2 separate regions of the Homo sapiens genome follow, and region 1 is linked to region 2. The links are contacts of gene promoters, found by promoter capture Hi-C in blood cells and fetal thymus (Javierre and others, 2016). All regions are on one chromosome and are shown on one strand. The core of a region is centred on a gene start or on the middle of the fragment in contact, and the rest is flanking DNA. Distances in the headings are between cores, read along the strand shown. Region 1 overlaps LOC105374455 (a long non-coding RNA gene). Region 2 holds the start of SLC30A6 (solute carrier family 30 member 6).

Evidence for each region. The method cuts DNA at HindIII sites, captures the fragments that hold promoters and counts their contacts. A CHiCAGO score of 5 or more calls a contact.
Region 1: a fragment that was not itself captured here is called in contact with the fragment with the promoter of SLC30A6 in region 2 in 1 of 17 cell types (non-activated CD4 T cells); the score reaches 6.8 in non-activated CD4 T cells.

Annotation. Positions count from the first base shown.
Region 1 is chr2:33,601,614-33,606,539 of GRCh38, reverse strand. The region is part of intron 1 of LOC105374455 (a long non-coding RNA gene); the gene reads right to left. It also overlaps the pseudogene ATP6V0E1P3. Among named protein-coding and RNA genes, the nearest start is that of FAM98A, 4.8 kb to the right of the region's middle. The HindIII fragment of the contact is 3,183 bases long and covers 1,994-4,926 here.
Region 2 is chr2:32,164,545-32,169,907 of GRCh38, reverse strand. SLC30A6 (solute carrier family 30 member 6) reads right to left here and starts at 4,044. Exons shown (of 14, transcript NM_017964.5): 1 at 4,005-4,044. The coding sequence starts at 4,007. SLC30A6-DT (SLC30A6 divergent transcript) reads left to right here and starts at 4,169. Exons shown (of 1, transcript NR_185886.1): 1 at 4,169-4,867. RefSeq lists an enhancer at 2,208-2,724. The HindIII fragment of the contact is 4,145 bases long and covers 3,181-5,363 here.

The DNA of each region.
Region 1 (4,926 bases), core at 2,336-4,835, 1.4 Mb before region 2:
AGCACCGCTACCTCAGAAATGCAGAAGAGAGGAAAATTAATTTTAACCAGTACTATCAGAGAACAACTTTTTTGTGGAGCAGTGAAGCTGAGATGGGGCCTGAGTGAAACCACCTTTGCAGAATTATAAATAATGAGCGAAATCTAACAGGGCTAACTCCATCTTGCTTCTAACCTCACAGGCTAAATTGCTTTTTTATTTATTCTAGCACAGAGGCCAAGATAACTATGAGAGGAATTTAGTTTATAGTTAAACTTGGAGGCAAGGGAAACTAACTCCCCCCTGCCTCTGCCTTATCCTACCATGCCCACACACACTATCCAGAGATTGAAGCCACATTCTTAAGACACGGGTAAAATTATGGTAGGAGCTTGAACTTTGCTAAAGAATAGGCATAGTTAGGCCGGGTGCGGTGGCTCATGCCTGTAATCCCAGCACTTCGGGAGGCCGAGGCGGGTGGATCACGAGGTCAGGAGATTGAGACCATCCTGGCTAACACAATGAAACTCCGTCTCTACTAAAAATACAAAAAATTAGCCGGGCGTGGTGGCGGGCGCCTGTAGTCCCAGCTACTCAGGAGGCTGAGGCAGGAGAATGGCGTGAACCCGGGAGGCGGAGCTTGCAGTGAGCCGAGACTGCGCCACTGCACTCCAGCCTGGGCGACAGAGCGAGACTCCATCTAAAAAAAAAAAGAAAAAAGAAAAAAGAAAAATTGGCATAAACAATTACCTGCCATTGCTTAATGTGTTTTCCTACAAGTTGCTAACTGACCCAGAGTCACGTAACTGGGGCCACAACATTTATAACTTCCTCTACTACTCCTATAACCTTACTATTATGAACCCTAAAGAACTGGGTCACTGAGATATTTTTTAGATTCAGCACTTCAGTACCACCTGGTCCTGAGAACAGACTAAGCTGCATGAAGACAGTTACAGACACTGTTGTGATTTCACCCCAGCCAGTCAATTGTTTCAGGTCCCCAGCCCCCTGTCAGTCAAAGTACCCTTTAAAATCTTAGCCTCTGAATTATCAGGGAGACAGATTTGAGAAATTTCTCCCTGTTATTGCTTGGCCAGACCTACGATTACTAAACTCTTTCTTTGCTGCAATACCGGTTCTCACTGGTTCTTTTAGGGCAGCGGGCAAGAAGAACTAGTCGGCCTGTGACATGAGGACAGGGTAAGATGTGAACTAAGTAGCTGACAGAGCAGAGGGTTTACACGTGTGCTCACCTGAAGCTGCCTGTGCCAAAATGCTAAGGAAGGCTTGGGAGGAGAGAATGAGTGCCCAAGGCAGTTAGAGAAGGCTTCTCCCAAACTGAGTCTCAAAGACTGAGCAGGAGGAATCTGCCAGGCAGACGAATGAGGGAAACAGGATTCCAGGCAAAGTCTGTACAAAAGTATAGAGGCATGAAAGGGCAAGTTATGTTAAGTGACCAGGAGGAGTTCCATGAGACTGGAATAGGCAGAGAAAGGAGGAGAGGCCCATGGGAGACAGGGTAGAAAAAGTGATAGACCTGCTTAACAAGTAAAAGACTAAACAAGGTTGGAAATCCCAAACCATAATGCAGGGCAAATAAATGCCTGGATGTTCACACATATGACATAATGTGTGACTTACAGGGTCCAGAAAACAGAGGGAACTGGTAGATCCATACCCCATGTTGAAGGGGCAACCTGCTCAACCCAAGCCAATCATTGCCTTTATGGGCAATGAGGTTCCTCCAATGCTGCCAAATCAGCAGACGTTTTCGCCCCAGAAAAGCCAGACACTCAGATTTTTAAAATAAAATCTCCAAACTTTTAAATGTAAGCTCAGTTCTTTAACTTATTAAACAGGCCAAACAAAATACAACGCTTGGTCTGGTGTGAAGGCTAGTTTATTACCTCTAGGCTACAGTCTAATAAGCTCTTACTGCATCCAAATTAGATGGGTTTCTATCTGGTTCACTGTGTGCCTGATTGCAGAACATGGCAACTAGGCTGAAGCTTTGTTGGGAGAACAACAGAAATCAAATTTGGAGCTTTTATTCTGGAAAGATCTGGATATATCTCTGTGTGTGTTTTTGTATATATATACACATTTGTGTGTGTGAATGTGTGTGTGTGAATATATATATATATATATATATACACACGTACATTCACACACATAGCACTTCCTTTGTTTAGTTTAAACACAGGCAAGATGTTGTTCTCAAACTTTGTAATATTCTCTAAAAATTGCCAGGGCTCAGAAACTATACTAACATAGCCAGAGGAATGATTTGAAAAAACAGCATTCTTTAGTAATATAAAGTATTTGAGACCATACAAGATTTAATTCTACATGCTAACTTAAAAAAAAAAAGAGTTGTGCTTTCACTGTGCAAGCTGAAAAGGACTTTATTTAGCAACATATACAAACTTGCATTTCTGAGCAACACCAGTAAATCTATGGTCTTTCTATTTTCTCCTTGCTGGAGGGTCATTCTAAAGATAAATTCACTAAAAATGGAAAATGCTGCTATTTTTCAGACAGTGTTCTTTTATTTTTGATAGAAAAGTTATTTGTTTTAGATGCCTATTTAATCACCTCTTAGAAACCAATCCATGACAAATCTTATATTTGAGCTTATACCTACCTCTTTTCCATGATAAAAAATTACTTCTATAGATGCTAGAAGTAACTTTCTTAAAGATGTCAGCTGCATAAATTTTTAATTACTATATAATTAAAAACCTTCTAATAATTTTTAAGGTTATGACTTATAAAACATGTTCCTCTGGAAACTGAAATCAGTTTTCAATTTTCCCATTTACATTTCTTTCACAAGTGAAAAAAATAATTTGTCTTTATTCTCTTCAAGAAGAGCTAGAAAAGGCTGATCTTTAAGATCATTCATTGTTTCTACTCTCCAGGAAAGGCAGTGTGGTATGGACCCCCCTCCCCCGAAAACTATCTGCATCATAATCGTTGGAACATGAGACTATGGAAAAAGGGACTTTGCAGGTGTGGTTAAATTGAAGATCTTAAGGTTGGGAGATTATTCTGGATTATCTGGCACAAGGATGGGGGTCCTTATAAGTAAAAGAGGGAGGCAGGAAGGTAAGAGGGCATGACTACCATGTAGCAGGGGTCGGAGTGGTGTTGCTGGTCTTGATGAAGGAGGGGAGTCATAAGCCAAGGAAGGTGGGTGGCCTCTAGAAACCAAAACAGGGAAGAAAACAGATTCTCTCCTAGAGATTCCAGAAGAAATGCAAACCTGCCCATTTTTGCCAGGTGAGATCCATTTCAGGTGTCTGACCTCCAGAGCTGTAAGATAATAAATCTGTCTTGTTTTAAGCCTCTAAATTTGTGGTAATCTGTAGCAGCAGCAGTTAAGAATATGGACAGTAACCAGACTCCCTCAAAGATGGGACACTAGAATAGCTTTATTTTATATTTTATTTTATCTATAGAAAACAGAAAAATGATTTATTCCAAAAGATGGCAGAAATGAGAAATTCATGCTGAAAATATACCTTGGGCCGGATGTGGTGGCTCATGACGGGGTGCAGTGGCCAAGGTGGGCGGATTGCTTGAGCCCAAGATTTTGAGACCAGCCTGGGCAACATGGCAAAACCGTCTCTACCAAAAAATAAAAAAACTTAGCCAGGCATGGTGGCCAGCGGCTGCAGTCCCAGCTACTTGGGAGGCTGAGGCAGGAGGATCACTTGAGCCCAGGAGGTTGAGGCTACGAGATCACCACTGCACTTCAGCGGGAGCGACAGAGCAAAACTCTGTTTAAAAAGGAAGAAAGAAAAAAAAAAGAACACATAATTTGGTGTAATTCTGTTGGGAGAGCTCTTTCCTCTGAACGTCCTCTCCTACTGACTGCCCCACTGGAGTCTTGTCAGGCAGTAGTACGTTCTAAATAGTTCACTGATTCCCATGTTATGAGAAGGCAGGAGCCACTACAAATCCACAAATTCCAAGGACATAATAACACATTTCTCAGAAGAAAAGCATCTTCTCTCTCAAAAGAGTGCATTATCATTTTGAGGAGTTGGCACAGTTTAGGTTAAGTAGGCACATAATTCATTAAAGCATAAAAAAGTTGAAGAAAAAAATGCTGCATTGTGTTAGACATTCAAATGTGGTGTGAATGTTTAAGGCAGCTGATGCCCAAAATAAGCAAGTCAAGAAAAGTGGTGTGGTTTGGATTTTGCATCTAGAAGGAATTCTTTTCTCATGACTGCTAAGACTGAGCACTGTAAAGCCTGTCTTCCTCAAGGCCAATGACACTTCGGATACCAGATGATTTCATGTTTCAACTGCAGTCTGAAGAGAGGGTTGAGTTGGCCAGGATTGCAATCAGCCAAAAGAGACAGCAACAAACTGAACAGGTCACCTACATGGTAATGATAACTCCCTACTTAGGACCCTTAGGGATGAACCAAGGCATGAAGAAACCAGTGAAGCCCTAAAACACGCTCATTGCAATGAGACGTATGGTGAGGCCCTGATATGCCATGCTTACCGCTGGTCTGCCAGCCCCTGCCCCTCTGCCTCACTTGGGTCCCACCTGGAAGTCATTTTTAATTAATTTTTTTTTTTTTAACAGAGACAGAGTCTTGCTATGTTGCTCAAGCTGGCCTTGAACCCCTGGCTTCAAGTAATCGTCCTGCCTCAGCCTCCCAAAGTGCTGGGATTGCAGGTCTGAACTACCGCGCCAGACCCTAGAAGGGTTTTAAGTTGGTATTTTATATTCTTTTTTGAGAAAGAATCTAGAATCAAAGTCATCAGTAAAAGGGCATGTGCTGGCACTTGTGGGTGTGCCTTCTCACAAGAGTACCCTTAAGTAATTATTCAGCCTCTAGGTGAACACCTTCTAGACAGGAAGCTCATCATCTCTCAACGATACCTAAGTCACTTTAAGACTACTCTTAGAGTGTTAGAAAA
Region 2 (5,363 bases), core at 2,795-5,294:
AAATCAGTACCTGCTCATTATTCACATTTGCTTTTGCAACTTTGTATTGTTAATGTGAAATCATGATTTCTCTTGATACTTTAAAAATAAAAATGGTATGCCTCTCCCTATACACAGTCACATCCATCTCTTGAACCTCAGTTCCAGCTGCTTTTGAGGAGGACAGTCTGATTTTAAATATAGGCTACACGGCAAACAGGATATTCACTCTGTCGCAGCCCCATTCTGCGGTGAAGGAGTAGCTGGGACTACAGGTACCCACCACCACGCCCGGCTAATTTTTTTTTACCTTTAGTAGAGACGGGGTTTCACCGTGTTAGCCAGGATGGTCTTGATCTCCTGACCTCGTGATCCGCCCGCCTTGGCCTCCCAAAGTGCTGGGATTACAGGCGTGAGCCACCGCACCCAGCCAATAAATATATCTTTTTCTTGGCTGGCCATGGTGGCTCATGCCTGTAATTCCACCACTTTGGGTGACTGAGTCAGGAGGATCAGTTGAGCCCAGGAGTTCAAGACCAGCCTAGGAAATATACTGAGACCCTGTCTCTACAAAAAAATTGAAAAGAAAAAAATTAGCCAGGCATAGTGGTACATGCCTGTAGTCCCAGCTACTCAGGACACCAAGGTGGAAGGATCGCATGAGCCCGGGAAGTCAAGCAGTGAGCCAGGTTCACACTTTACTCAAGCCTGGGCAACAGAGCGAGACCCCATCTCGAAATAAATAAATAAATACATAAATAAATGTACATATGTATAAATATTATATATATGTGTATGTACATATGTATATATATTCTTTTCTTAAAGAATTATGTGTGAGTTATTTTGGTTCCAAAGATTTAAAAAATTCTCCTTAATACTGTTATTTTGGACATCTTCTGTTTAACCCTAGCCAACTTTAAGTTTCAGGTTAAGAGAATCAACAAGGTTTCTAAGAGGCAGAAAGCCACTTCTGATGCCATCCTGACAATGAAAATAAAACAAAAATCCTAATGTCATATCACTCTTCCCAAAATTATATTGGCTCGCCATTGCTATCAGAATAAACTACAAATTTTACAACCTGAATTTCCAGGTTTTCAATGACTTAGCCTGTTTCTTTCCAGTCTTATCTCTTACTCCAGATAGAAACCCTCAACTTCAGTTAAACTGGTCTACTCTTTTGTCTCATGACCACTCTTGCGTGAAAAGGCCAGATCTGTCTAACCCAAGCTCTTATTCATATAATGACAAACAAGTATTAGATTAAGAGTATTAGAGTGGGGCACAAAGTACTTAGTTTCATGTTTCACTTCTTAAATGAAGTCTTCCTAGATCATTCCAAACTATAGTGTTTTTTATGCCACTTATTTTGCATTAACCAAAGTAAAGCCTTCAACTTGTTACATTGCTTTGTAATTTTAGTAACTTCACTAATGACAAGGGCTATTTTCCTTTATATTTTGTTTTTATATACTTATATTTTTAATATTATATATTTATATTATTTATATTTTCTAAGAAGGCACTGTTTTCACACAGCATGTTAATAAACACAAAACCTTTTTCTCAATATTTTATTTTAAAATATTTATTTTAAAAAATAAACCTTAAATACTGTTTCCCTGCATGACTAATACTGATGTTTCAAGCATAAAGATATAGTGCCATAGGTTTTCAGTGCTTTATAAAACAGACGTTTTATTTGTATTTTTCTTTATATTTTCTAAGAAAGTACTGTTTTCACATAGCATGTTCTTAATAAACGCAAAACCTTTTCTCAATATCCTTTAAAATAAACCTTAAATACTGTTTCCCTGCATGACTAATACTAATGTTTCAAGCATAAAGATATAGTGCCATAAGTTTTCAGTGTCTTATAAAACAGATGTTTATTGAAAACTTCCTCTGGGCCAGGCACGCTACAAAGCTCTGGGAATTAGGGTGAAATACATAGGTCCTGCTCTCAATGAGCTTACAGTCTAGAAAGTGAGAAAGACAAATAAGTACACAACTTTAACATCGTCTGTAAGGATTACAGATGTTACTGGTAAAAAACACAAGAGATTCAAGTTTTACTTTCTTAAATTAGGGCTGTGAGTTAATGAAGGTGTATAATCTGAAAGACCTCTGAATTTTAAGTCTCTTATCCCTTTATCTTCAACTCCCTTCAAATCATCAGTATTATAGGCAAGTTAAGTTTCTATTGTATGTATTCGTTTTGTGCAGCTTTATGTAACAAAACTGGTGTGTGTGTGTGTGTGTTTGTGCATATAAAAGCACAAGGTACCACCAGAGCACAAAGGAGAAGCAACTAAGAGGATACTGGAACATGAGGGAAAGGTTCATGAAAAATAATTAAGGATATATAAGGGTTATTCTGATAAGGACAGCCGATAGAGAACAGAGAACAATTCTGGGGATGGAAGAGCATATGCAAATTAGGTACAAAGGCTCAATTAATACAGCATGATTTGCAAGCTATTCACTGTGGCTGAAATACGGATGTTGCATACATGTATGCATTAAAAAAAAAAAAAAAAAAAGAGTTTGTGGCCTGGCACGGTGGCTCACGCCTGTAATCCCAGCACTTTGGGAGGCAGAGGCGGGAGGATCACCTGAGGTCAGGAGTTCGCGATCAGCCTGACCAACATGGAGAAACCCCGTCTCTACTAAAAATACAAAATTAGCCAGGCGTGGTGGCGCATTCCTGTAATCCCAGCTGCTCGGGAAGGTGAGGCAGGAGAATCGCTTGAACCCGGGAGGCGGAAGTTGTGGTGAGCCGCGATCGCGCCATTGCACTCCAGCCTGGGCAACAAGAGTGGAACTCCGTCTCGAAAACAACAACAAAAAAAGAGGCTGTAAAAGTAAGAAGCTTGATAATGAGTGGCTTTGTATGCCATGCTAAACAGGACTTTATCTTGAGTGCTACAGAAAAAAAAAAAAGGAGAAAATTTGAGTAAGGGAGTGATGTGGTCAAATTTTAGAAATATAACTCTGGCTACAGGCTTCACAATGGTGAATGTTTTGAAGAAGAGCGTAACTGAAGGCTATTTGATCATTAGCCAAAAAGTGTAAACTTTTACCCATTTTCTGTGTGCAAAAGGATTACAGAAAATTTACAAAACATAAAGTGTGTGAATGAGGCATTTTCCCGACCATATCCACTTAAGTAAAAAACTTAGTACAGTGACAAAAGCTTAGGCACAGAAATGTGGTCTCTTTCTCATACGTAGGCTATCAATAAGTACTCCATAAATTTTTCTAATAAATGCATTTTCAAAAGGCACACGCCACTTGGACACTTCAAATCCCAACCAACTGCTTATCTTTAAAGTTCAGAGCTATATATTTGAGCTCTAAAGGCAAAGAATGACTAATTCTAACAAATTTGAGAGAAAACACCATATCCCAACAACCATAACGTCTACTGGGTCTTCCATTAGTTTCTACAAACCCAGAAATAAAGCAGCAATAAAATGTCCTACCAACACCTTGACTTTCTGTAGTTACTGCGCTTATGAAATTTGCTGCCGTAATCAGGCTACTTAATATTTAGTAAAGCCAAGTTGCAGAGTGAGACGTCTGCCCTAAAACCCTATTACTAACCTTTTTTTTTTTTTTCCGCTGGCGTTATCGCCACTGCTCTAAGAATCACTATTACAGTTGTTGCTGTGGACTTGTTTTCAGATCTTTTGTTGGTGGCCTAGTTGTTGACGCTGGCAAAAACTTTTATTACCTTAAAGAAATCTCGGCAGAGGGAAGTCAGAAACTCGCCAGGAGCTGAAAGCTCTGCCTGCAGCGGGGCCTAGATCGTGAGCGCCTGCGGAACAGGTGAGGGACCGAAAGGGACCAGAACTCTGAAGGGGAACATTTTGGGAGACAGCCGCTCCTGCCAAGGGGCCCGACTTCAACTCCAATGACCCCTCCTCTGGGTGGCTGAGGGATTTCAAGGTCGCTTCGGGACCAAATAAGATAAACCGAATCAGCTACAGCCGAAACCCTCACCCCAACAGCCAACTCACCATGATAAGGAGCTGCACAGCTCCCGCCGGAAGCCGTTCTGGGTGCTCGAGTTTTCCCAGAACGGAAGGGGTGGGGCACCAGTGGGCGATTGGCTGTGAGGAAAGCGTGGGAGGAAGTGCGTGCTCTGGCCTCCGGCTTCCGTCCCCTTCCCGGCTGTCCCTGCACTCCGTGGCGGAAGGCGGCTAGAGCGGCTCCCTCTGAGCTCTCCGAGAGATTGGTCGGGACCTGAAGCGTTGAGGTTAAGGGCAAGGCAAGGAGCAACGAGGAGTTTTTCGTTACGTTAGAAAAATTTCGTTGCGTGCTGAAGCGCTTTTACCTGTGTTGTATGATTTAACCTTATGAAAATGGACAGTATTCCAGTTTTACAAGTGAGGAAAGAAGATTAAGAAACTTGCCTCCGCCAGGCGTGGTGGTTCACTCCTGTAATCCCAGCACTTTCGGCGGCGAGGCAGGCGGATCACTTGAGGTCAGGAGTTCGAGACCAGCCTGGCCAACATGGTGAAACCCCGGCTCTACTAAAAATGCAAAAATTAGCCGGGCGTAGTGGCACGCGCCTGTAATCCCAGCTACTCTGGAGGCTGAGGCAGGAGAATCGCTTGAACCTAGGAGGCGGAGGTTGCAGTGAGCCGAGATCGCGCCACTACACTCCAGCCTGGGCGACAGCGCGAGACTCCGTCTCAAAAAAAAGAAACTTGCCTTGAGTCCTACATATAGTTTGCTGTAGTAGCAGAATTTGAACTCGGACCGACTAATGGTCTACTTAATAAAATGCTATTTGGATTCTCTATAAAATTAATAATATAGAAGTAATGTTAATTATAGAAAACTTGGAAAATATTAAATTCATTCGATAAAGATTGAATATGTAGCACGTGTGTTTGTCAGATACTGGTCTCGTGAAAATTATATTCTGGTAGGGAAGACAGAAAACAAGTAGGGATAAAGAAATTTTTAAAAGATATTCATAAGTAGTGTCGTGTAGAAAACTGGGTATAGGTTGAGTATCCTTCATCCCAAATGCTTAAGACCAGAACTGTTTCAGATTGTGGCTCTTTATCTTGGGGATGGGGCCAGAGGCTAAACTTGAAATTCATTTATGTTTCGTATACACCTTATGCACATAGCCTCAGGGTAATTTTATGCAATTTTAAAAATTGTGTGTGTATCAAACAAAATTTTGACTACAGCTTTTTACATGCGGTCAGGTGTGGAATTTTCCACTGTGGCATCGTGTTGATGATCAAAAAGTTTTGATTTTGGAGCATTTTAATTTCAGATGGTTGGATTAGGGTTGCTGAACATGTAATGGTATACAGAACAACTGAGTAGGTGTGGTGCTCACGTCTGTAATCCCAGCA